Regions from separate parts of the Homo sapiens genome. Here all the other regions are linked to region 6. Evidence: promoter capture Hi-C in 16 types of primary human blood cells and fetal thymus (Javierre and others, 2016). All regions are on one chromosome and are shown on one strand. Each heading gives the region's core, a stretch centred on a gene start or on the middle of the fragment in contact. The rest is flanking DNA. Distances are from core to core; before and after follow the strand shown.

Region 1 (3,575 bases), core at 353-2,852, 370 kb before region 6:
GGTGGGGATCACTGGCGGCTTGCTTTGGGTCCCATCTGGGTCACCAAAATGTCATCCTAAAATAATCAAAAGGGTCAAAATCTAGTTTAAAGTGTTCAAATGCAAAGTCTGAAGATAGCCACCTAGGAAGCACAGATTTCAAAGAATGGAAGTGAGTGTTCTGAAGTGTCGAATTAGTTTATCTTTGGCCAGTGGCAACCTATTCAAGTTGTCTTTTGAATCTTTTGAGCAATCTCAGTAATCTCTGAGAGCCTCCTCGTTGTCTAGTATGACAAAATGTTCTAGGCTCATCCTCTACTTTTCCTTTCTCAGACTTGGAATCAGCCATTTTTTCTTTTTCTTTTTTTCTTTTCCTTTTTTTTTTTTTTTTTTTTTTGAGACAGAGTCTCGCTCTGTCACTCAGGTTGGAGTGCAGTGGCAAGATCTTGGCTCACTGCAACCTCCACCTCCCAGGTTCAAGAGATTCTCCTGCCTCAGCCTCCTGAGTAGCTGGGATTACAGGTGCGCACCACCACGCCCGCTAATTTTTGTATTTTTAGTAGAGATGGGGGTTTCACCATGTTGGTCAGGCTGGTCTTGAACTCCTGACCTCGAGGAGGGTGATCCACCCACCTCGGCCTCCTAAAGTGCTGGGATTACAGGTGCATGATTGCTTTGATTTGGAAATGATGACTAGAAACAGCAATATGAGAATTAAGACTCCTCATTGCTCTTAGGTTGATCTTTTCAGAGGATAGAGGTAGGAAATATATATATATTTTTAAATAAAATACATCATGAATTTATATATATTCAAATATAGAATAGGACTTTTAACTCAATCTTCTGCATCTTACGTTTGTATTTCCTTTCTCTCATGACAAAAATCCTGGTTTCTGATGGCACCAAGACAATTACTTATTTGCTTAATCTCACAATGCACACGACAGTCTCAGAATAACAATACCTACCACTAGCTGCAGTGATTTGATAATTTTAAGATTTATTTGCAGTTCTTTTTGTCCACAGAGTATATCTCAATAGAAATTTATAGTCAGTTTACAATGTTTCAAAGTCATTTGGAATAGTTCCTCTATGTGGTTTTGCCATCCATCTGATACACAGTTGTATTTACTTGACTAATTTTGCTCTCAATTGTTAAGTATCTGATTTTGTTATGTTTAATTTTGTTTTATAATTATGCAAAGTATTTACACTGTACCAAATTCAAATATACAAAACAAGGTATATTCATAGAAGTATTGCTTTGACCCTGTCCCTTCTTTTTTTTTTTTTTCCCTCACTCTGTCACCCAGGCTGGAGTACAGTGGCATGATCTCAGGTCACTGCAACCTCCTTCTCCTGGGTTCAAGCGATTCTTGTGCCCCAGCCTCCCGAGTAGCTGGGATTACAGGCATGCACCAGCACGCCCAGATGGGAAACTCCTTGTCTACTAAAAAAATACAAAAAAAGGGGTCTCCCCATGTTGGCCAGGCTGGTCTTGAACTCCTGACCTCACTTGTTTTACCCACTTCGGCCTCCCAAAGTGCTGGGATTATAGGCATGAGCCACTGTGCCTGGCCCTGCTCCTTCTATATAATTCCTTCTTTCATCATAGATAACCATTTAAAGAACTGTATATGTTAAGCCTTCCCTGCCTTTAAAAAATTTAAGGACTTGTCTGAAGATGACTCCATGGTAATATAGAGATAATTCTCATTTCTTTTTTGTAGCAGGCTTGTACTCCATTGTATGGCTGTATCCTGATTTATTCTTTATTGAATCCATTCTCCATTATGGATATTTGGATTGCTTCCAAGTTCTTTATTATTATTAATGGTGTTGCAATGCATGGCCTTGTGCATCTTCTTATAGTTTTGCCAATGTATCTTTTGAATAGATTACTCAACATGGTGTCGCTGAGTAAATATCTAGCAAGGTATCAGCAAATCTTCCTCTGGAAGAGAGGTGAAATTTTGCATTCCCACCAGCAGAGCAAAAGTGCTTGCTTCCCCACAGTCTGGTCAACTGTTTATGTGATCAAACTTTTGGATTTTTCCCATCCAGTGATAATTGAGAACTAGAATCTCAGAGAAGTGTAAAATTATACTTCTCTTACTATTAGCACTGTTGAGCTTTTTGTAGGTCACTTGAATTTGCTTATCAATTGTTTCTTAGTTTCGTTTTACAATAGAGTGTTATCGGTCTTTTCTTCTCAAATTCTAAAAGCTCTGTTTATGTGAAGAATAATCGCTTTGGGTGACGTAAGTGGCACATATTTTCCCCAGTTTGTCATTTGTCCCCTTTTTACATTACTTATGACACTTTTCACATATAAAGGTTTCTAACTTTATTTTATTTTTTACATCGTCAATTGTATCAGTCCTTTCTCTTTTTACTTCTGGATTTTGAGTCATGATTAGGAACATTTTTCCAAGTGTCATGTAATAAAGCAATTCACTCATGTTTCATGTAGTATTTGTATGGTTTCATTTTATTACATTCCTGATACACTTGGAATTTATCTTGTTTTATGGTGTGAGAAATGGATCCATTTCCTCCTTTTAAAGTATAGCTATCTATCTGTTAATAGTTGTCCTAATACTACTCACTTAAATGTTCATCTTTTTCCCACTAATTTGAGGTGCTGACTTTATTATATGTTAAATTTTCCTATGCAGTTGTATTCATGCAGGGCTTTCTGTTCTACTGAAAGTATCACTAAGGGTTATGACGGAAGTTTGAATTCTAGTTAAATGAATAAGCAGGTCCTGTGTTGCCCAGAGCACAGGAGAAGAGGTATAAAGTGGTATTAGCCATTTTCTCTGCAAGGTAAAAGACGTGAAACATTTTGGATGTTTAATGAATAGTTACATGAGTGACTCAATTAAAAAAGTAAATTAGTAAATGATCAAAGAAATACACTTGAGATATATATTTGGAACAGGACAAAGTTTCTATGAAATAGCAATTAGTGACAATGCAGTGGTGGACAGTATAACAGGGAGAAAATAGTAGTATTTATAATCTATCTGCTTAGAAAAAGAATAACTTTGTTGCATATTTTAAAATGTGAAACTCTGAGAACTTGTGTGTAAATATTAAAATATACTCAGATAATTTCATTATATTGAAAATTCTTATTACTGTATTGAAAATAAACCAATGATGAATCCTTTAGTGGAGAGAATCTTTTTTTTTCAATTGTGAATAATTGTAATTTAAATGAGATGTTTTCTTGGTTCAAATTTTGTGTGTAAGATTTTTTAATAGTGAGGCACATTGACATGTTTTGAAAACAGAGTGTAACAAAAACAGTGACCATTTCTCCTTTGAGAATGAAAATAATGACATAAAAAATAATTAATCTAGGTTTTCATTACACTGGGAAGACAACTCATAGACACCATTGTCCAGAAATCTGTGACAAAACGCCTAATTAGTGTTTCTTATCTAGCTTGGAAGTAACAGCCAGAACTCTGAAGGTGTCATCCTGACTTTTGAAGGATTTTACACATAATTCAACATAGCTATGTGTGAAGAGCTCTTCACACATCTCCGCCTTTCTTTTGTAGTTCAACATACAATACTACAAA
Region 2 (3,614 bases), core at 381-2,880, 430 kb before region 6:
TGAAGAAGGAAGGAAATGTGTCAAGGGACTTTTATGAGAGAGAGAGAAAAATGTAAGACTGTATGTTGGTTTGAAATGATGACCAAACAATGATTTCATTTCACTATAGTCCAGCAATAAATCTGTAACTCTTCTCTCACCAGTGACACTGGAAACTATAGGGAATCCAGGCCAACTAATTCCAGGCACTAATCTTTCATGCTGGGAAATGCATCTGCTAGGTGTACAGGACCCAGAAAGTCTGACAAGCTAGTTTTTGTATGAATTTGCTATTAATCCTGACCACTCTTGCCTCCAGTTCATCACATGGGGGGCTACAGTCCCATAGTGCCGAGTTCTGGGACACTTATATTCAGTTATCTTAGCACGTCACAGAGCATGAGAAAACAGCTACTCGGATGCTTGCACTTTTTTTAGAGAGAGAGAGAGAAAAAAAAAATGACAGAGAATAAAGAGATGCGTCTTGGACTCATGTCTTGGCTTTGTACCCACTAACTGAACTTTAGCTCACTGAAGCTTGAGTTTGCATCTATAAAATGGGGTGATTGAGTTACAACAATGGTTACCATTTTATTATTTTTCCTCTCTAGACGTCCTGTTTTGAGAGATTTAGATTATAGTATTTACATCATAATAATTAATTTGCTCCACTTTCATTGTGTTTCCATTTTAAAGTTATCCATATTTTAAGCAACAATGTATAATTATCAATGGTTTATAAAAACCTTATGAAATTACATAAATCAAAGCCTTAGTTGAGATGCTAACAAACATCTCATGGTTCTTTCTACTGCTATTGTTCGCTACATTTTGTATACTCAGTGTTACTAAGTGTCACTTTCACCTTCTATATAGAGCCTTGGGACATAGGTCACTTTAAAAAATGGTACTGGGTGGATAGGATCCAAAAGAGAGATGTCAGATCCAAAATCCAAGGTCATGTGTCCTAGGACCTGCATATGGCTCTTTCTGTACTATGACTACTTCATATGTGGATTTAGTGTCAATGTCTAATTTGCTTCTCATCCCAACATTCCTCTGAGGACATTAGAAGCCAATGAGAATGAGTGGAAAGTAGAAGATGGCTGGTACTTTAGCCATCTTCTAAAGCCTCATCTTAGAAAGTGGGGCTTATTTGGTCCAGGAAAGAGAGTCATGGTCTTGGTCATTCTTTGGGGGTGGCTTCCTCTGAGATGGCTCCTGCTTCAAGCCCATAGGTCTATTCAAAGGTGGGTGGCTCTGCCAACATATTGAGGTGATCTATCTTTAGTAAAAAGCAAAGACAAATGTGTATGGTATTACCAGAAGTATTTGTATGTTTCCTTAGGTTATTATTTTTGGATGAAAATATTATAAAAGCTCTAAGTATGTAGAAAAGTTTCATAATTCTGGAATTCTTGTACAACAGTGGTTGTACTGCCTTCACTGTTTTGTGGATAATTAAAATTTGGGTTTGGCTGGCTAAGTTGGTTTGAGCCGAGTGCTAACAACATCAGAGGTTTCGTTCTGTTTGTAGCCATAGGTTTCCCTGCTAATATCTGCCAGCTGTGTGATCAATGCCTGCTGTTTGTCACAAGGGAGTCACTAAAAGTCCCTTGGCCTACTTTGATTGCCAAGGAAGACATGAATTTTAAAGACGGATTTCCTTTTAGTGTCTTGGAAAGCATTAACTCTGTGCCTCCACTGCTTAGAACAAAGACCTTCTCTTTGTTTCTTCTCTGTTGTCATCTGGTGCATGAGGTGGGGGTTCAGTAGAGTGAGTTTATGCATCAGAGAATGAGTAGACTTTCATTTAAGATGGTGGTGAGAAGAGGCATGTGAGCTTTGCAGACAGGGCTCCTGTGACAAGCAGAATAATGAGACCCCAAAGGTGCCCGTGTCCTAATTCCTGGAACCTGTGAATATGTTATGTTACATGGCAAAGAGAAATTAAGGCTGTTGATGGAATTAAGGTTGCTAATCAGCTGACCTCAAAATGAGATTATTCTGTGTTATCTGAGTGGCCCAATATAATCACAAGGGTCCTTGCAAGTGGGAGGCAGGGGTCAGAGAAGGAGAAGATGGGACTGTGGCAGAAGAGGTGAGAGGGGTGCAATTGCTGGCTTAGAAGCTGGAAGGAGGCTGTGAACCCAGGAAAATGGGGTCTCTAAAAGAGGCTAGAAAGAGGATTCTTCCCTGGAGCCTCCAGAAAGGAACACAGCCCAGCAACTCCTTGATTTTAGCCCCGTGAGTCCTATTGCAGACTTCTGACCTTCAGAATTGTAAAGTGATACATTTGTGTTGTTTTAAACCAGTAAGTTGGTGGTAATTTATTAGAGTGGCAATAGGAGACTAATAGCACCCAATAAAACTGACAAGAGAAATGTTCCAGGTAGTAGCTTTGTGGCTCTGCCCTGCTTTCTGTCGTCCCACTGAGAGTCCTTCCTGTTTGGAGTGCCTCAGAGGAGGGGCTTGGGATCAAGTTGAAATGAGAAGCCTTCCTCAATCTTTCAGGCAGAAATAATCACTCCTTTAACCCATTGTATCTAACCCATTGTATTTTATCCAGTGGTTTATATAGAATTGTATGAATTGTTTAATGACTATTTGGGTACAAGAAATGCCGATTTCTTTAGTTTTCTATATCAAATGAAATCCACTTTGTTCTTTCCTCATGCGGGTTTGTGAAAAGTAATAATTGATATTTTGGCTGATGGGGTGAAAAGAACTCCCTCTTTTCTTCTTAGATGCTGTGAGAAGCTTGGGGCTTATATGGTCTGGGAAAGTGGGGCATAGTCTTGGTCATTCTTCAGGGGTGACTTCCTCTGAGGTGGTTCCTGGTTCAAGCCCGTAAGTCTACTCAAAGGTAGATGGCTCTGTTAACAACTCCATCTCTTCCGTGGGGCCGTTCCATGGTGCTATGCCATGCTAAACCACAGAAACCTTTGCTGAACTTCCCAAGACATAGCACCTGGTGCTACTTCTTCAGTCACAAGACACCTGTCCCCATCCAAGAGCCTGGCCCTTCAGGTGCACTACCCTGAGCAGGCTCTCACCACCACTTCACTAAATTACATCTGTCCCAGGCTGGGTGCGGTTGTTCACACCTGTAATCCCAGCACTTTGGAGGCTGAAGTGGGCGGATCACCTGAGATCAGGAGTTTTAGACCAGCTTGGGCAACATGGTGAATCCCCATCGCTACAAAAAAAACACAAAAATTAGCTGGGCGTGGTGGTGCACATCTGTAATCTCAGCTACTTGGGGGGCTGAGGCAGGAGAATTGCTTGAACCTGGGAGGCAGAGGTTGCAGTGAGCCGAGATTGCACCACTGCACTCCAGCCTGGGCAACAGAGTGAGACTCCATCTCAGAAAATAAATAAATAAATAATATGTGTCCCTTCTCCTTCCCTTTTACAGGGGTCCTGGCTGTGCTCAGGACATTTGGCTACTCCCATCTCCACCCTTCCTCTCTTCGATGGGCACTTAATTCTCTCAATGCACCTAGTACCAAAGGTGGAAAACTAGCACTTGGGTTGTATTCAGCCTCATACCCTCTTGCTGTTTTTCCTTGGTGTGTGCTGTGGCATCCTGCACAGAGTTTTAAATCTGAATGAATTGCTATCATTTACAAATG
Region 3 (3,772 bases), core at 730-3,229, 470 kb before region 6:
GAGACACAGAGAAGGGCTTCAATTCCTTAGTGGTCGCACATTCCTAGGCTACCCGGCAATGGCCAGGTCCCTGGCTGTCATTTGGTCTTCAAGTCCTCTGCTGCTTGTAAAAGAGATTAAGGGCTAAAGTGCTCCCTGGTGAGGTAGAAACATCAACTTTTGCTTGACCTGATAGAACTGTAAGGCTGGAATATCCCTGGATGGTTGTTCCAGAAGAGCCAGCTTATCCGTCCATTGCTGTTATTCTTATTACTAAAAATGTATTTCCACTTGACAACAGTGGCTGCTGTAAAATCGCCTCTCCAGTGACAGTTGTTTCAAGGAGCAGAACTGCCTGAAGTCCCAGAGTGTCTGCTAATGGTTGTCTTCTGGGTGCCTCCCAGATGGCTGGAGGATTATGGCCTCTGGGATTTCCCCTTCTTGCCTGGGGTGTGAGGTTGACGGTAGAGAGGATGCCAGATCCAAGGAGCTCCTGAGGGACGATAGCACAGAAATTCCGAGTGGGAAATGGAAGGGCTAGAATCGCAGTGGTGCCATAAACTTGAAATTGAGTGTTGAGAATAGAGAGGTTGAGAAGAGAGCTGAAATGATTGAATAATATTAACAGTGTACCAACCTTCAGATATCTCCTTCTAACTACATATAGGAACAACTGGGCTGTGACTCGTGAGGTCATTCCTTATATTTTGAGACCTAGAATCTGTAAGACAGAAAAATATGTCACAGAGCAGTGAGATTGTCCCTTGCAGCATCAGCCGGGTATAATTGATGGCCATGGTATGACCTAAGAGGTGTGAGTGTGAGCTAATGAGACTGGCTCTTGTGTGAGGATTAAGTAATTTGTGCCTTCTTCATGGTAACACTTCATTTAATGTTCTGAAAACAGTGAAACACAAAACCAGTGGGAGGCAAGAGAAAACCCTCTTTCATCCTAAATCAGTGGCTGAAATATCTCAATTCAGAGCGGGTCCACCCATACCTCTCAAATCTTACGGTAACTCTTTAAACTGGGGGAAAAAAGGGATTCAAATTCACCCCATCTTTAAGCAAATTATTTTTCTTTAAAAATAATTTAAAAAATACTTTAATAGGGTTCAGAACACATTACCCCAAGTCATCCCAAAATATGCCTCTTTGGCATAAGGATTATTTTGAGCTGGTTATTTTGAGAACCTGCAGACACAGCAGACACTTTGAAAACAGAAGTTACCCTTTTGTAAGAGAAATTTATACCTATGAAGGAAATCTTCACTTTTAAGGATATCTCCCTCTCCATACCAGGAAGATAGGGCTGACTGAATCACTAGAGACTCTTATCAATGGAGAAAGTGTGGACTTACATCTGCAAAATAAACCTGGTTCTTGTTTATTGCACTTTTCCTGAACACCTCCCCATAACCATGTCTTTCTCCACACTCCTCTTTCTTTGTTTCAGGGGACAATAGTATTTAAGTCTGAAGTCTAAGACAATTCTTTATCTAGCCTTGAGATTTAATCTTTGAGATTTCCCAAAGTTATTGCTCGTGTATACAGGAGGTATACATATTAATAAACTTCTGTTTATTTTTCTCTTGTTAATCTGTCTTTTGCTGCAGGGAATCCCAGCTAAGAACCATGGAGGGTAGAGAGGAAATTATTTTTCCTCTCTTATACTTACTTGCACAGGGCAAAACTTTTAAGTTAGCACATAGAAATGTAGAGGAAAAGTAAATTTCCATCCCCAACCCCTAATTCTTCTTCTCAAAGACAATAGCTGAGGGTATTTTCTGGTATAAGCTACCAGAGGCAGTCTTTCCAAATTCAAATGTGTATGTGTGTGTTTATGGATCTATCATCTTTTTGATACACACACTTATGTAAGTACATGTGTGCATATATGTATTTGTGTGTTTCCCTACCCTCATAACTATTAGCATATTATACATACTGTTCAGCACTTTGCTTTTTTACATATCTTGAATAGCATTTCCTATGTTTGTCTCATTTTTTAATGCCACAGTGAATATTTTAATACACATTTCTTTTTACATAAATATAAATAAATCTGTGGGATCAGTTCCAAAAGAGTAGAATTTCTGTGTCAAAGAGTATATACATTTTTAATTTTGATATATATTGACAAAATTTCCTCCAATTCACACTTGCAGGGGAGAAAAGAGATTGTTTGCCGTATACCCATCTAGGTTCTATGGCTAAGACCCATGAATCAAACTGATAAAAGACAGATTGATAAGAGAAAAAGGTTTTAATTACAGATGTATGCATGGGAGTTCATAAAGAGAATGATGGCTCAAGGAGGTGGCTAGAAGATGGAGGCTTATATACTATTTTTGGGTAACCAAAGAAAAAACGATTTGGGGCTTTTGGACAGGGCAGCAAATTATGGAAAGGTGAAGATGTAACCGCCCAGTGGGTTCACTTTGCCCACTGCCTAGAGATAGCTGATTTATCAACACAGGGAAATTGCCGTGGAGAAAGAGTAATTCACACAGAGCCACCGGAGTTTTATTATTACTCATATGAGTCTCCCCAAGTGTTTGGAGTTCAGAGTTTTTAAAGATAATTTGGTGAGTAGGGGGCTTTGGAAGTGGGTAGTGCCGACTGGTCAGGTTGGAGATGGAATCGTAGGGGGCTGAAGTGAGTTTTTCTTGCTGTTTTCTGTTTCTGGGTGATGGTTGAGCCAGATTACCAATCTGGGTGGTGTCAGCTGATCCATCAAGTGCAGGGTCTGAAAAATATCTTAAGCACTGATCTTAGGTTTTATAACAGTGATGTTATCCCCAGGGGCAATTTGGGAAGGTTCATACTCTTGGACCCTAAACTGTAAATTCTAATCTTGTAGCTGATTGGTTAGTACTGCAAAGGCAGACTGGTCCCCAGGCAAGAAGGGGGTCTTTTCGGGAAAAGACTTTTATCAATTTTGTTTCAAAGTCAAACCATGAACTGAATTTCTTCCCAAAGTTAGTTCGGCCTGTGCCAGGAATGAACAAGAACAGCTTAAAAGTTAGAAGCAAGATGGAGTTGGTAAGGTCTGATTTCTTTCACTGTCATAATTTCCTTGGTTATAATTTTGCAAAGGCGGTTTCAAGGAGAGAAAATGTTTGGTAAATAAAGATCATCTTTTATTCAGATAAGAGTCTCTCATGTGATAAGAATTGTCTCTGGAAATAGCTCTCTTCCTGGTTAAGAGACATCTTTACAAATGGAAATTCCTTTAAAAATGTATATTTCCTTTATGCAAGGAGAAATTTATACACTGTTTTTAGGCATTTTGACGGGGGATAAAGAGGTTTTTCTGTATCTGCTGGTTCTCAGTTGTCTTTAGCTCAGAATATTCTCTATGCCAAAGTGGCGTATTTGGGGCCACATATTCTTCACACTCACACCAGCAATGCCTCAAAGTTGTTTTTCCCTTAAACTCCTGCTCACACAGTCCAGGTTTTTGATAGAGCTAACAACAATTTAATTTCTTCTTTCTGTCTCTCTCTTCCATCTATCCAAAGTGGGGTTTTTATGTAATATTAGCAACTTTCAAAAAACAAGTTGTTACCTAGATAATGCAGCTCTTCTTACATACTGTTCCTGTTGTCTGAAGTTACGGGAGCTGCAGTATTAACAGAATAAATGCAGTTGATTTGATTTGGTAGAAATGGCTTGAATTTAATCTAATATTTGATTCTAATTTAATTATACAATTGTCCTAAGTCCCACTACTGAAAGCAAGAGGACATAGTTCTTACTTCCAGGTAGCTTAAATTGTTCAGCAATTAAA
Region 4 (3,559 bases), core at 939-3,438, 350 kb before region 6:
AAGCGTGTTTGAGTCACCCAACTCTTCTCTTGCTTTTTCAGGAGAGGTTGCCTATGTAGTGAAAAGAGCATATCCTTTGGAGCTGGACAGACATGAGCTCAAATCCTGGCCCTGCTGGTTTCTTTCTTTCTTTTTTATTTTGAGATAGAGTCTCCCTCTGTCACCCAGGCTGGAGTGCAGTAGTGCGATCTCGGCTCACTGCAACTTCCACCTCCCAGGTTCAAGCAATTCTCTTGCTTCAGCCTCCTGAGTAGCTGGGATTACAGGTGCATGCCACCATGCCCAGGTACTCTTTGTATTTTTTTTAGTAGAGACCGGGTTTCACCATGTTGACCAGGTTGGTCTCGGTCTCCTGACTTCAAGTGATTCACTTGCCTCGGCCTCCCAAAGTGCTGGGATTATAGGAGTGAGCCATGGCCCTGCTGCTTTCTAAGTGATCTGGGGGAGTTTCTTTCATCTGTAAAGGATGGTGACACCTACCTTATGAGATTTCTGTGAGGATTAGATGAGACAACGTATGCACGGCATCGTCTGCAAAATAGATAAGTTCTCACTACGTAAGTTCTGGGAAGTAGGTTGGGAAGCACACAAAAGTCCATGTGTTGCGTGGTGTAAAGAAGCCAAACAGTATTTGTGTAGTTCACATATCATTTATCTTAGTGTGGGGCAGAGCTCCTGGGCTTGATGCAGTCAGGACTCCTCGGTTACCTTTAGATCAAATGCACCTTCCTGTTTTGCGTAGACTTTGAAACTGTATTTTTGGTATAGAGTTCAGTCTGGGGACTACAGAGAGTTAAGGGCAACCATGAGGACTCTCTTAACCACTGAGGTCTTATGTTTTCACAATTTCTTGAGTTTTGAGAACTTTCCTGAGTCTTAGATTAAGCCTCTAATGCTCTTTTGCTGCAAAGCAAAATATGGCCTAGGAATTCCAGAAGGTGCCTTAAGGAGGGCCAAAGAGCGATTCGGCTGAATATCAATCCCTGATAGCTTTTGAACTCAGGGTCCCTGACCCTTGGCAAAGTGTTTCTGAAGAACCCTTTGGATTCTTTGGAAGATTAAGAATAAGGAGCTTCCATTTCTTATCCCAGGAAACCACCTCTGACCTTATCGGAAACCTGAGCTGAGAAGCCAACGTTAAGTTGGATCAGTGGCGAGGGCTGTTAAGTGGGGCCCTGTGTAACTCGATGGACTTTATTATTATTATTATTATTTTGAGACGAGGTCTCACTCTATCACCCAGTGACACAATCTTGGCTCACTGAAACCCCCAACTGCCGGGTTCAAGTGATTCTCCTGCCTCAGCCTCCCGGTAGCTGGGACTATAGGTGCACGCTACCACACTCGGCTAATTTTGTATTTTTTGGTAGAGATGGGGTTTCACCATGTTTGCCAGGCTGGTCTCAAACTCCTGACCTGAGGTGATATGCCCGCCTTGGCCTCCCAAAGTGCTTTGGTTACAGGCATGAGCCACCACGCCTGGTTTTTATTCTTTAGCAGGCTTCTGGGAACTGCTAGTTTCCGTTTCTGTAAAAGCAAAGCTTGGGAAGACCATATTCTTGCCCTCATAAGAGTCTATTCTCTACCTTACTCCAGGTGCCACTGCCTTAAATACAGATACCTTATTTCCCCCAATCTCAACCCTCAGCAAATCACTTTTATTCTTCTGTTTCTTGAAATATTTGACAAGAACTTTTGTGGGGAAAAAGAAATGGTGTGGGTGTATTGGAAACCGGGGAGAAATCTGGTTCTAGGGCTTGGCTTTCTACTAAATTACATCTCTCTGAACCAAATTCCCTTCACTGGTAAATGAGTTGTTAGAGGTTCTCAACTCCACTGCCCATCAGTATTATCTACAGTTGCTTTTTCAACACCTGGGTTTGGATTCCTGGAATCCACTCCAGACCTATTTTATTTACTTAATTTTTAGAAACAGGGCCTTGCTCTGTCACCCAGGCTGGAGTGCAGTGGTGTGATCATAGCTCACTGTAACCTCAAACTCCTGGGCTCAAGCGATCCTTCCATCTCAGCCTCCTAAGTACCTAGGAGTACAGGCCTATGCCACCATACCTAGCTAATTAAATTTTTTTTTTTTTCATAGAGATGGGGTCTCATTTTGTTGCCCAGGCTCATCTCAAACTCCTGGCCTTAAGTAATCCTCCTGCCTCAGCCTTCCAAAGTGCTGGGATTACAGGCCTGAGCCACCACGGCTGTCCAGACCTATTTAATCTGACTCTGTGAGGGTAGAGCTCTTCGCCAAGGGGTGCTTATATACATTGGATAGAGAGCCCCAGGGTTGTGTAAACTTCAATCCCAGGATTCTTTAGAGGTTCAACACTGGAATTGGCAAAAAAAAAAAAAAAAGCCTCCTTATAGCAAAAAAAGACTCTCATTTTAGTGTGGGGAGTGTGTTTGAGGGAACTTAATGCTTTTCTAGAAGGCTTCAGATAGCCGAGAAGAAAGCAGTGCTGTCCAAGATAAGAGCAGAGTGTCTCAACATGAATTACTATCAGCAAGGCCCTCTAAGCACAGGAGGATGGCCTGTCACTGAGCAGGCAAATTCCAACCTTGCTTTATCCCAATTATCTTTCCCATTCTCTTCCACCCCAGTTCTAAAGGAGGAGACGACAGGGGAACAGATGAGTGTGCCCAAAGTACCCGGGGCATGTTAGAAGGGGAAGTGCCATAGCCTCAAGACAGCCCCACTTCTACAGCCTGAGGCATCAGACATGCCGTCCATCTTCTCCGTGGCCAGCCTGTGGGTAGCCCTTGCCTTCGTTCTGCTCCCCACATCTAGCCAGACATTCAATTGTTCTCTAGCCCAAGCAAGCTTAAAGATGTTGATTCAGGATTAATAACTGGGATGGACAGGTCAAGATCTTGGCTTCACTCATTTACTCAACACGTATTTATTAAATGAATGGCTTTGCTATTGACAGAGCAGTTTTCATTGGGAAACCCCAATACAGCAATGGCTAATAAAGGCAGGTAGCACAACCATCTGAAAAAGAAAATGAAAAAGCCACCTAGAATGACATCTTAAATATAGCAAAATTAATTTAATTCTAAATGGGATCTAAAAGAATACTGATAGATACATAATGTATGCAAATCTATGCAAATCCTGGTACCAATTATGCAGAAAAGGATTGGGTGGCATTTCTAAAGACTAGCCATGCTCTAAGCTGTCACCCGCCAGCTTGCTTCTCTCTGGAGTCAGATTAAGACCAGATGGCAAGAATTAGAAACCAAGAAAAACGCCTCCCTTGAACCCTCACCTTCAAGTCTAATTTAAGCATCTGTGAGCTTTGAAGTGGTGGGACTACTTTGGTTAGCATTCAAGAGCCCTTTTAGGAGTTGCAGCAGGACATTGATTCAGGAAACAATAATACCTGACCATGCGGACTCTGCTAGACTCTTGCATGGCCTGCTGAGGTAATGTCTATAAAATGCTTTGACCTTCTTAGAATAAGACAGCTTTATGTATTGCTAGAAAAACAGCAAAACAGAATGCCTCACAAAATAAAAGATTCCATTTCCTCTAAGGGGATAAAGTACA
Region 5 (3,912 bases), core at 96-2,595, 390 kb before region 6:
CCACTGCGCCTGGCCTAGGCAATTATTTTTGATGCCAAAGTAGAATTAATTGTTTTCATTAATTTTTAAATTAAGGCCAGGTTTGATGGCTCACACTTGTAAATCCCAGCACTTTGGGAGGTTGAGGCCAGAGGATCACTTGAGGCCAAGAGTTCAAGACTAGGCAACATGGTGAAACCCCCTCTCTACAAAAAATAATAAAAAAAATTAGCTGATCATAGTGGCATGCACCTGTAGTCCTAGCAACTCAGGAGGCTGAAGCAGGAGGATCTCTTGAATCCAGAAATATGGGGTTACAGTGAGCTATGATGGTGCCACTGCACTTTAGTTTGAGGAATGGAGCAAGATCCTTTCTCTAATAATAATTAATAGTAATAATAAGTTTTAAAATTAACTGTGCTTTAAGGATTTTTGTGATACCTTCCTAGACATCCTGTTTATTGTTGCAGAACTGATTGGATTCTCTTTCATAGAGCTCTGACCATAGAGGATACAAAGCAAATAAATAGAACAATCCTTGCTTTCAAAGGAGATTTTGATACAATTTTGAAAAAAAAAAAAAGAATGCAAAGTATGCTGCTCTTCCTAATGCCAAGGAGTATTTTACTTTTTAGCAAAAACCTTCTCTTAAATGTGGAGAACACTCAGGGGGAGGTGGAAGAGAGAAAGCAGTGAACAGATTCATCTTCCCTTCTATATCTGAAAGGATAAGCAGGCTGTGCTTTCCAGAGTGAGTTAGCATGCTATTTTATACAAATTCTGGGAAATGTCGGGCGTTTAAGTGTTGCTTTCTTGTTTGTTTAGTTTTCACGGTACTCCGGAATGTGTGTATCTCAGACATTTGAAAGGCATTCTGTAACCTATATTCCAGATATTATCCCTTAGTCATCTTTTGGGCTAGTCTGTCTGTAATTGATGAGTGTGCTTTTGAAATCCAGGGTTATCTTTGTTTAGGAAATAATTAATTGCTTGACATTGATGACCCTATTTTGTAGTTCTTTGTTCTATTTTGTAAATTTAAAAATGCTTCTTTTATCTTTGTATCGTTAACTTTGCCTTTATTACCTGACGAATAGCATATTTGCTGCTTAGGCAATGACCTCTGCAAATCAGTGTTTGGTGGGAAGGGCAAAGAGAACATGTAACTGTAACCTGAGGAGGAGTTTTTCTTTATCTCTTGTTCCGCTCTTATAGACTCCAGCGAACCACTAGAAGGAGCCTGTATCAGCCACTTTCCAATTCTTTGCAGTGATTATGTTTGAAGCAGATATTTATGTTTTCATTCCTGTTGATATCAGTGGGAATACTCTTGATAAACATAAGATGTGGGAAATATTTATTTCTGGGTCCTCTATTCTTCTTTCAGAAACCTTTCTCTCTCTTTTTTTTTTTTTGTCCACTCCTTCAAACTCCAGGCTTGCCACTTCTTAGTGGCATGACTGTCTCCTTTGCCCTTCCCACCTAGACCACGCCATAGCTTGTGGGTCAACCTCCTCACTTGGCTTTCCTGGTACCTCTGCTGTATAAACTTGCTGTTTTGGTTTCACTGCCTCAGGGCCTTGTTAGAAGATTTGCCAGTTCTTCTGATAAACCAGTCCATGCAATGCTGTTAATAGTTGATCAAAATCAACCCCAAATATGCCTCCCCTAAGAACCCGTTCCCATTCTAATCTGACGGGGGTCTTTAACACATTTAATTCCAAGTTTTCCAGTCTGGCCTGTGCTTAGAGAAAAATTCACAGGATAAGCACAACACATTTTTCTGGAGCTTCTCATTTACTTTAAGAACCTTAAAGGAAAAACTCACATTATTTTCATATTAAAAGAAATAAAGATACAGATTACACTAGACATCAGAATTTCTCATATCTTAAAAATAAAACATGAGAAAATAAGAAATTTTTACTTTTGGTGAATTATTCTGGGTTTGGTCTCTAGGTACCCTGCAAGGCTTGCATAAAAATCTTAAGAAGCCAAACCTCTTTGGTTTAAGCAAAAAATAGTTTTCAATGCTCAGAATTATAGACATTTGAGGAGGCTAATTTTTTTTTTTCTTTTCAGCACTTCTCTGATCATTTGCCCAGATGGGATGTATTTGCTGGGCCAATAATGTGGGCAGGAACACATTTTTCAGGCCTGAATATTTTTTTGAATCTCTTTACAAAGTCTTGTTTGGGTCTATTTGTGTTTTAGATCAAGTCTTGGTTGGTGAGTTAGAGATCTAAGTGATGACATTTAGCAAAAACATGGCATGGAGCTGCTTTTTAGTTTGCATTTTGGGCTAAGATAAGACACTTTATGTGCTTCCTTATAAAGGATATTTAAAATTTTTGAAATATTTACTTACAGTAGTCAAGTCAATGTCAAACAAGAGAATGAATCTTCAGGGAACTTTGAAGATAGGTTTAAACTTTTAAACATATGCATTTGTTTTATTGTATCGTAAATTATATAAAGAAGAATTACAATGAGGAATTGAAAAATTAATGGGATTTTTTTTTGTCAGAGGAATCCCTATGGGGAAATTATTGTAGAATCCGACAATAGTGCAAATTATTCATACTTTGTTGCTTTTTTAAAAAATTTTATCTTATTTTAGGCTTTTTTTATTTTTATTTTTTTTAATACTTCAAGTTTTGGAATACATGTGCAGAAAGTGCAGGTTTGTTACATAGGTATACATGTGCCATGGTGGTTTGCCACATCCATCAACCCATCATCTACATTAGGTATTTCTTCTAATGCTATCCCTCCCCTATCCCCCTACTCCCTGACAGGCCCGGGTGTGTGATGTTCCCCTCCCTGTGTCCCTGTGTTCTCATTGTTCAACAACCACTTATGAGCGAGAATATGCGGTGTTTGGTTTTCTGTTCCTGTGTTAGTTTGCTGAGAATTATGGTTTCCAGTTTCATCCATGTCCCTGAAAAGGACAGGAACTCATCCTTTTTTATGGCTACATAGTATTCCATGGTGTATATGTGCCACATTTTCTTTATCCAGTTCATCATTGATGAACATTTGGGTTGGTTCCAAGTCTTTGCTATTGTGAACAGTGCTGCAATAAACATGTGTGTGCATGTGTCTTTATAGTAGAATGATTTATAATCCTTTGGGTATATACCCAGTAATGGGATCGCTGGGTCAAATGGTATTTCTGGTTCTAGATCCTTAAGGAATTGCCACACTGTCTTCCACAATGGTTGAACTAATTTACACTCCCACCAACAATGTAAAAGCATTCCTATTTCTCCATATCCTCTCCAACACCTGTTGTTTCCTGACTTTTTAATGATCATCATTCTAACTGGCATGAGATGGTATCTCACTGTGGTTTTGATTTGCATTTCTCTAATGACCAGTGATAATGAGCTTTTTTTAAAATGTTTGTTGGCCATATAAATATCTTCTTTTGAGAAATATCTGTTCATATCCATCACCCACTTTTTGATGGGGTTGTTTTCTTTCTCGTAAATTTATTTACATTTCTTGTAAATCCTGGATATTAGCCCTTTGTCAGATGGAAGATTGCAAAAATTTTCTCCCATTCTGTAGGTTGCCTGTTTGCTCTGATGATAGTTTCTTTTGCTGTGCAGAAGCTCTTTAGTTTAACTAGATCCCATTTGTCAATTTTGGCTTCTGTTGCCATTGCTTTTGGTGTTTTAGTCATGAAGTCTTTGCCTTGCCTATGTCCTGAATAGCGTTGCCTAGGTTTTCTTCTAGGGTTTTAATGGTTTTAGGTCTTACCTTTAAGTCTTTAATCCATCTTGAGTTAATTTTTGTATAAAGTGTAAGGAAGGGGTCCAGTTTCAGCTTTCTGCATATGTTTAGCCAGTTCTCCCAGAACCATTTATTAAATGGGGAGTCCTTTCCCCATTGCTTGTTTTTGTCAGGTTTGTCAAAGATCAGACAGTT
Region 6 (3,623 bases), core at 393-2,892:
GGGTGTTTTGCTTTGTTTTGGTTTGGTTTTAAATCCTTGCATGAATAAAAACAAATGCTAATTTTGTGTCTTTAATGTGTCAGGCATTTTATAGAACACAGAGTTCTAATTACTCCTGTGGCAATTACTGAAGGTGAAACTTTTGGAGAAAATAGGTACCTTGCCGAAATAAATATATTTTATTAGTAGCTTCTTGTGTTTTAAAGCAAATGGAACCTCTGAACTCCTAACACAAGGAGAAGGCAAAGCATTCAGTTCGGGTCTCTCTGGATCTACTGTGGAAGTGGTGGACTCCTCCTTCTGAAGATCTTTAAAAGCAATTGTGCCTGTGTTTATCTGACAAAAAGGACTGATGTGATGTGTTGCTAAATGAGAGACTTTTCAGATTCCCTTTCCACTCTGAGTTTAGAGTTCAAGGCGGGGGAATCTTAAAGGAGAACTTTCCACACTCTTGGAGTAAATAACAATTGAAATATAAAAAATCTGGCGGCGGGGGATGGAGGGGGCATTCTGTAATGGAACTTGTCAGCAAAAAGAAAATGGCAAATAAATGTGAGAAAGGGGCCGAAGGAGGGCAAGACAGTACATAGGGTGCCCCCCACCCACCCGGCTTTTAATGATTCAAGCAAAAAAATCTCTGCTTTGTGTGTAACTGGCACGGTGAACGTGGGAAAGGACACGAAGACCTTTCTCTCCCCACAGCTGGTCCAACTTTCCAATTTTCAGGTTGTTCACAGTGATTTCACTTTCAGTGGAAACGGGCGTCCCATCCCCAGGAAAGGAAGGCTTTCCTGCATGTGTAAAAAAGTAAACTGTTACTTTGTCCTTGCAAAAGAAAACTTCATTCTCTGAACTTCCCCGGGATCTGCAAAGCGCCCCGCGGAACTCCCGGTACTTAGTAGAAGCTCATTAAAGGTCTCTGTTCCCCTTTGCTCCCCGTTCGCCCGCTGGCCCTTTCTCAGAGCCAGACAGGCACAGCGCTGAGAAGGGAAGAAGTCCGAACAGGGAGCTGTGAAGACAAAATAAGGGAGTCCCGAGTCAGTACCCTTTAGTCCAAAGAAAGGGAGCGGGATGGGGGGAAAGGCAGCCCCGCCCTGGGACTGAAAAGTCTGGATTCTTAACAGCTGCAAGGTCGTGGATATTTTATGGGTTTTCTTCCTCACAAAATACACTCCTATAAGCAGAGATTCCCCCCCTCCACCCCGAAGAGAGGTGACGCAATGTCCTCAAACACTACCACCACCCCCAATAAAAAAGAAAAGGGAAGGGGGAGCGTCTTGCAACCCCTTCGCTTCACACAAGTCCAGCCACTCCCTTTCCTCCCAGCCGCTTCCCATCCCTTCCCCCATCCCCTAAAAAGTTTGATGACCGCAAAGGAAACCGAAAAAAAGTTGTCTTGCCCCAGTCCTGGCGGGCCATCAGCATCTCTTTTGTTCGCTGCGAACCCACAGTCCCCCGTGACGTCACCCGGAGCCCGGGCCAATCGGCGCGCGGTCGGCTGCGGCGGCCGGCGGGCGGGCGGGCGGGTGGGGTGGGGCGGGGCGGGGACAGCCCGGCGGGTCTCTCCTCCCCCGCGCCCCGGGCCTCCAGAGGGGCGGGAGGGGACCGTCCCATATAAGCCCCGGCTCCCGGCGCTCGGACGCCCGCGCCGGCTGTGCTGCACAGGGGGAGGAGAGGGAACCCCAGGCGCGAGCGGGAAGAGGGGACCTGCAGCCACAACTTCTCTGGTCCTCTGCATCCCTTCTGTCCCTCCACCCGTCCCCTTCCCCACCCTCTGGCCCCCACCTTCTTGGAGGCGACAACCCCCGGGAGGCATTAGAAGGGATTTTTCCCGCAGGTTGCGAAGGGAAGCAAACTTGGTGGCAACTTGCCTCCCGGTGCGGGCGTCTCTCCCCCACCGTCTCAACATGCTTAGGGGTCCGGGGCCCGGGCTGCTGCTGCTGGCCGTCCAGTGCCTGGGGACAGCGGTGCCCTCCACGGGAGCCTCGAAGAGCAAGAGGCAGGCTCAGCAAATGGTTCAGCCCCAGTCCCCGGTGGCTGTCAGTCAAAGCAAGCGTGAGTACTGACCGCGGGCTGAAACAGGCTGCCTCAGGGATGGGACCCTAAAGCCGACCAAAGTTGGGGCTGAAGTTTTGTGCGCGCGCGTGTGTGCGAGTGTGTGCGCGCTTTACTGAGAGAAACCAGCTGTGCACACAAAAGGACCGAGTTTTGAGCACGCTGGTTCTGAGGGCCTGGGATGATAAGACCGTGCATTGGAGGACGAGGACTCTGCGACTTTCCCGTGTTCTAATAAATTCTGCACGTTCAGATTGTCCTTCTAGGAATTAACCAAAACTTGCCTTTAAAGAGAAAAATGATGCATGTCTATAAATTTTCCGTCTGGGATTAGTGTGGTCCTTACTGCTACTTATTTCCTTCTGTTAAATAATTGGTCAAATATTTTCAACATGGGGGTGGAAAGGGGGTATTGAAATAGCTGTCTTGTTTCTAACTAACTTGGAAGAGATGTAATTGGTTCAGACCTCTTTAGGGCCGCTCAGGATACTTCACCAAGAACAGAGGTTGGAATTCTTTCCGTTTTTCAAAGACACACCCTCCTTTTGCTTTGAGAAAGCTGCTTAAAGTTGTCCTTTTTGACTATTACTCCAAAAGAATATTTAAGTTCCTTGCATGTTTTAAAAATGTGACTTCAATTGTCTGCCTTCCAAAATGTTTCCAACTTTTTTATGTAGACCCCTGGCCAGATGGAAATGACATCATTGTATATAACTTTTAGCAAAGTTAAAAGGAAAAAAATATGTACGTCAATATTCACATGAAGAAAATTCCATAATTTTGGGAAAAGGAGAAATGCAAATGTAACGTTTTCCTTCAATTATTTGCAGCCGGTTGTTATGACAATGGAAAACACTATCAGATAAATCAACAGTGGGAGCGGACCTACCTAGGCAATGCGTTGGTTTGTACTTGTTATGGAGGAAGCCGAGGTTTTAACTGCGAGAGTAAACCTGAAGGTAAGTGACAACAAGCCCCATAGTTAGTATCTTTTAATACATGAAGTGGTAATTGTTAAACTTTGCATTAGTAAGTAAAAATACATACACCATTTTTCTAATAGAATTACCTGTCATTTCCTCTTAAGTTTAAAAACTGCTTATATTTGCTTTTCACATGCTTTTACCTTTAAAACAAAGAAACGAATCTTTCCCAAATTAGTTCCTAGAGTCTTCTTTTTGCTTTACTCTCCCAAAGTTTTTGATGAGAAAAATGAAAGATTTTGTGTGTCCTCCGACAAAAAAAATTGCTTATAAAATTTTAATTTATTAGAAAGCAGTCTCAAATCTTAAACTGTTAGTTTATGAGCCAGAAAACACTTTGGGGACTTACATCGTAAAATGATTTGTCAGCGGCAGTTAACACAAAACCATTAGCCACTTCAAAGTTCTCATTCCTTTAGGACCAATGATATTTTTCTCATAAATTATAGCAACTCTGTCAGAGAAGCACTGATCAGGGGAAAATGGAAATCATAGGATTAACAACTGTCAAGGCCTTGTGGGAGGTGGGGATCTTCGAATTGTTTGTTTGTTTTTGTTTTGTTTTGTTTTTGAGACAGAGTCTTG
Region 7 (3,952 bases), core at 57-2,556, 490 kb before region 6:
AGATTGGATCCAGTTTCTAGTGGGTAAGGCAGATGAGAACAGAGTAGACAAACAAACAAGGTAACTACAATTTGCAAGCAGTGCTGTAACAGGAACACTGGATGAGATAAGGTGGAACTGAGTGGGGCCCCTCTGCACAGGGTGGTCAGGGGCCTCTTCTCTGAGAGAGGTCTGAGTTGGGACCCTTAAAGGATGAGTCACAGCCAGTCAGTCATGCAAAGATGTGAAGGAAGAGGGGCCCAGGCAGAGGGAACAGCAAGTGCAAAGGGCTGGAGGCGATAAAGGCTTTGGCATAGCTGAGGGCGAAAGGGAGCAGAGCATGTCTGGAGTAGCTTAGGGGGTCATGATGAGCAGAGCGCTGGAGGCACGAGGAAGGGTGGATCTTCAGTTCCTGCCTTGTGCGACCAGAGAAGGGTGTCTGCCTTGGAGAGCCAGGAGCTGACTTATGTTGTGAAACAATAACTTGCCATGCATTGCGAATGGATCAGAGGATGGCAAGAATGGGAACAAGATGTGTCAGAATTGAGAGAGGGTGATGGTTTGGACTAGGTTGGTGGCATTGAGGAGGAGCATAAATGGGTGAAGTGTGAGGTGTATTTTGGAGAGGTAATGGACAGGAGTTGCTGATGCATTTGAATTTGGGGGATGGTGCAGGAAGAGGAGAAATCAAGGATGACTCATAGCTTTCTAGCTGTGGCAGAGTGTGGGGCCATTTGCTGAGTTAAGGATGTCTGGGAGAAGAGGCTAGATCAGAACAGAATCAATTTTGGATCATTTTGATGAAACACCATGAGTTCCTCCCCAGACCCCCAACAATTGGAGAACTTATTTTGTTTCTAAGCACAATATTCTAAGTAGAATATTGTGGGGGTTTTTTTGGTAACAGCTTCATTGAGGTATAATTCACATACTATGCAATTCACCTATTTTAAGTATATAATTCAATGGTTTTCAGCATATCCACAGAGTTGCAATCAATTTTAGAATATTTTCATTACCCTAAAAGAAACTGTACCCTATTGCAGTCACACCTCCTTCATTCTTCACATCTACCCTCCTCATCCTAAACCCTAGGCAGCCACTAACGTAGTTTCTGTTTCTAGATTTATGTGTTGTGGACGTTTGTGTAAGTGGAACCTATGGTTATATGGGACCCTTGTTCCTGACTTCTTTCACTTAGTATAATGTCTTGAAGATTCAACCGTATTGTCGCATGAATCATAATTGTATTCCTTTGTATTGTGGAATAATTTCCTTCATTTTTATGAAATAATATTGCATACAATATTATAACATTTTATGCATCCATTTATCAGTTAATGGGCATTTGGGTTTGTCTTAGTCTGTTTGGCTGCCACAACACTCGCTTCAGCCTGAGTGGCTTAAACAACAGACGTTTATTTCTCACAGTTCTGGAGTCTGGAAGTCTGTGATCAAGCGGCTGGCTGATTCAGTGCTCAGTGAGGGAGCTCTTGCAGGACGCCATCTTTATGCTGGATCCTCCTGTGGCAGAGAGAGATGATCTCTCTCCTGTCTCTTCTTCTAACGGCATCAATTCCATTCGCAAAGGCTCCTCCTTCTCCCTAATTACCTCCCCAAAGCCCCACCTTCAAATATCATCACAATGGAGATTAAGACTTCAACATATGAATTTTGGAGACACTCCGTTCATAGTGAGGTGGTTTCCACTTTTGGGGTATTATGAGTAATGTTGCTAGGAATATTTGTGTGCAGATTTTTGTGTAGATATCCAGGAGTTTTGTTTCAACATGAGAATTTTGCAGTGTTTTTAGGACAGTGTTTGTAGGACAAAACAAGCTGCTGCCCTTGATTCCCTGCTCTCTTCTCACAGCTGACCATCCTGTGACCTTTGCCATTGAGTTTAGGAGACTCCATTCCACTGTAGACAAACCAGCCTGAACCCTCGTGTCTCCACCTCGTGTCTCTTTCTGTTCTGTATCCAGCTGCTACATATTTCGGGATGAAATGCCCTGCAGTTGGTCTGTTGGTCGGCATTTTATGTGGGAGTTGGCTCACATTGTTGATGTGTGAAGAATGGTATTGTTGGCTCACGAGAACGTGGGGTGACTTCCTGGAGGAAGTAGGACAGCCTAACATGTATCACGAGAGAGAAGCTATGAGGGCAAGAGAAGCTGCATCCACGAGGCAGTCCTGGGTGGGACCTCCAGCTCTCCACTTCCTAACTTGGGCAGATTGCTGAAACTTCCTGGCCTTCATCTGTAAAATGGCAATGCCAAGTTTCATGCGCGTCCGTGTGAAGAGACCACCAAACAGGCTTTGTGTGAGCAACATGGCTGTTTATTTCACCTGGGTGCAGGCAGGCTGAGTCCGAAAAGAGAGTCAGCGAAGGGAGATAAGGGTGGGGCCGTTTTATAGGATTTGGGTAGGTAAAGGAAAATTACAGTCAAAGGGGGTTTGTTCTCTGGCAGGCAGGAGTGGGGGTCACAAGGTGCTCAGTGGGGGTTCTTTTTGAGCCAGGATGAGCCAGGAAAAGGACTTTCACAAGGTAATGTCATCAGTTAAGGCAAGGACCGGCCATTTACACTTCTTTTGTGGTGGAATGTCATCAGTTAAGGTGAGGCAGGGCATATTCACTTCTTTTGTGATTCTTCAGTTACTTCAGGCCATCTGGGCGTATATACGTGCAAGTCACAGGGGATGCGATGGCTTGGCTTGGGCTCAGAGGCCTGACATTCCTGCCTTCTTATATTAATAAGAAAAATAAAACAAAATAGTGTTGAAGTGTTGGGGCGGCGAAAATTTTTGGGGGGTGGTATGGAGGGAGAATGGGCGATGTTTCTCAGGGCTGCTTCAAGCGGGATTAGGGGCGGCGTGGGAACCTAGAGTGGGAGAGATTAAGCTGAAGGCAGATCTTGTGGTAAGGGGTGATATTGTGGGGACGTTAGAAGAAACATTTGTTGTATAGAATGATTGGTGATGGCCTGGATATGGTTTTGTATGAATTGAAAAACTAAATGGAATAACAGAAGGAGAAAAACAGGTATAAAAGGTCTAAGAATTGGGACAACTCAGGATATCTGATTAGAGAGTGCTTAAGGAGATTCGGCAGAGTCCTGCCGGCAAAGATTATTTATTTACTTCAAGAGTTAAGAGTGGCAGTTTGGGGATAGCACCAGGAGATATCAGCTGTGATGGCTTGGAAAAACAGTGTAAACAAGAGCAGGGCATGTATGAGTAGTTGAGAACGGTGAATAGGAGTATGACTAGACAGAAAATAGTAGGGATGACAAGTTTTTTTTTTGGTGGGGGGCACAGTCTAAGTTGGTCTGGTGTCTGGAATGAGACTGGGGCCTAATAAAAAGGAGCGTCTATACAGGAGCTTAAATGGGCTGTACCGTGTAGCATTCCGAGGACAGGCCTGAATTCTGAGAAGGGAAAGTGGTAGAAGTATTGTCCAGTCCTTTTTAAGTTGGTGGCTGAGCTTGGTGAGGTGTGTTTTTAAAAGACCTTTAGTCCGTTCTACTTTTCTTGAAGACGGAGGACCGTAAGGGATATAAAGGTTTCACTGAATACTAAGAGCCTGAAAAACTGCTTGGCTGATTTGACTAATAAAGGCTGGTCTGTTATCAGACTGTATAGAGGTGGGAAGGCTAAACTGAGGAATTATGTCTGACAGAAGGGAAGAAATGACTGCAGTGGCCTTCTCAGACCCTGTAGGAAAGGCCTTTACTTATTCAGTGAAAGTGTCTATTTAGACTAAGAGGTATTTTAGTTTCCTGACTCGGGGCATGTTGAGTAAAGCTAATTTGCCAGTCCTGGGTGGGGCAAATCCTCGAGCTTGATGTGTAGGGAAGGGAGGGGGCCTGAATAATCCTTGAGGAGTAGTAGAATAGCAGATGGAACACTGAGAAGTTATTTCCTTGAGGATAGATTTCCACAATGGAAAGGAAATGAGAGGTTCTAAGAGGCG

What was found. The method cuts DNA at HindIII sites, captures the fragments that hold promoters and counts their contacts. A CHiCAGO score of 5 or more calls a contact.
Region 1: a fragment that was not itself captured here is called in contact with the fragment with the promoter of FN1 in region 6 in 2 of 17 cell types (endothelial precursors and M0 macrophages); the score reaches 8.0 in endothelial precursors.
Region 2: a contact is called between a fragment that was not itself captured here and the fragment with the promoter of FN1 in region 6, in 9 of 17 cell types (endothelial precursors, M1 macrophages, M0 macrophages and 6 more). The highest score is 11.7, in endothelial precursors.
Region 3: a fragment that was not itself captured here is called in contact with the fragment with the promoter of FN1 in region 6 in 7 of 17 cell types (endothelial precursors, M0 macrophages, M2 macrophages and 4 more); the score reaches 9.6 in endothelial precursors.
Region 4: a fragment that was not itself captured here is called in contact with the fragment with the promoter of FN1 in region 6 in 1 of 17 cell types (endothelial precursors); the score reaches 8.6 in endothelial precursors.
Region 5: a contact is called between a fragment that was not itself captured here and the fragment with the promoter of FN1 in region 6, in 2 of 17 cell types (endothelial precursors and M2 macrophages). The highest score is 13.5, in endothelial precursors.
Region 7: a contact is called between a fragment that was not itself captured here and the fragment with the promoter of FN1 in region 6, in 4 of 17 cell types (M1 macrophages, M0 macrophages, erythroblasts and 1 more). The highest score is 6.3, in M1 macrophages.

Annotation. Positions count from the first base shown.
Region 1 is chr2:215,807,558-215,811,132 of GRCh38, reverse strand. The region is part of intron 1 of LINC00607 (long intergenic non-protein coding RNA 607); the gene reads left to right. Among named protein-coding and RNA genes, the nearest start is that of LINC00607, 34 kb to the left of the region's middle. The HindIII fragment of the contact is 4,814 bases long and covers 1-3,575 here.
Region 2 is chr2:215,865,559-215,869,172 of GRCh38, reverse strand. No RefSeq gene overlaps it. Among named protein-coding and RNA genes, the nearest start is that of LINC00607, 24 kb to the right of the region's middle. The HindIII fragment of the contact is 2,223 bases long and covers 519-2,741 here.
Region 3 is chr2:215,908,486-215,912,257 of GRCh38, reverse strand. LOC105373870 (a long non-coding RNA gene) reads right to left here and starts at 3,607. Exons shown (of 3, transcript XR_001739231.2): 1 at 3,551-3,607; 2 at 617-700; 3 at 386-472. The HindIII fragment of the contact is 5,383 bases long and covers 1-3,772 here.
Region 4 is chr2:215,786,949-215,790,507 of GRCh38, reverse strand. The region is part of intron 1 of LINC00607 (long intergenic non-protein coding RNA 607); the gene reads left to right. Among named protein-coding and RNA genes, the nearest start is that of LINC00607, 55 kb to the left of the region's middle. The HindIII fragment of the contact is 1,289 bases long and covers 1,544-2,832 here.
Region 5 is chr2:215,824,170-215,828,081 of GRCh38, reverse strand. The region is part of intron 1 of LINC00607 (long intergenic non-protein coding RNA 607); the gene reads left to right. Among named protein-coding and RNA genes, the nearest start is that of LINC00607, 17 kb to the left of the region's middle. The HindIII fragment of the contact is 7,248 bases long and covers 1-3,912 here.
Region 6 is chr2:215,434,087-215,437,709 of GRCh38, reverse strand. It overlaps FN1 (fibronectin 1), which reads left to right and starts at 1,642. Exons shown (of 46, transcript NM_212482.4): 1 at 1,642-2,055; 2 at 2,886-3,014. The coding sequence starts at 1,908. It overlaps FN1-DT (FN1 divergent transcript), which reads right to left and starts at 2,019. Exons shown (of 2, transcript NR_187198.1): 1 at 1,401-2,019; 2 at 1-791. RefSeq lists silencers at 1,459-1,548, 1,559-1,618 and an enhancer at 3,131-3,623. The HindIII fragment of the contact is 4,490 bases long and covers 1-3,623 here.
Region 7 is chr2:215,926,436-215,930,387 of GRCh38, reverse strand. No RefSeq gene overlaps it. Among named protein-coding and RNA genes, the nearest start is that of LINC00607, 85 kb to the right of the region's middle. RefSeq lists an enhancer at 2,251-2,777. The HindIII fragment of the contact is 6,678 bases long and covers 1-3,952 here.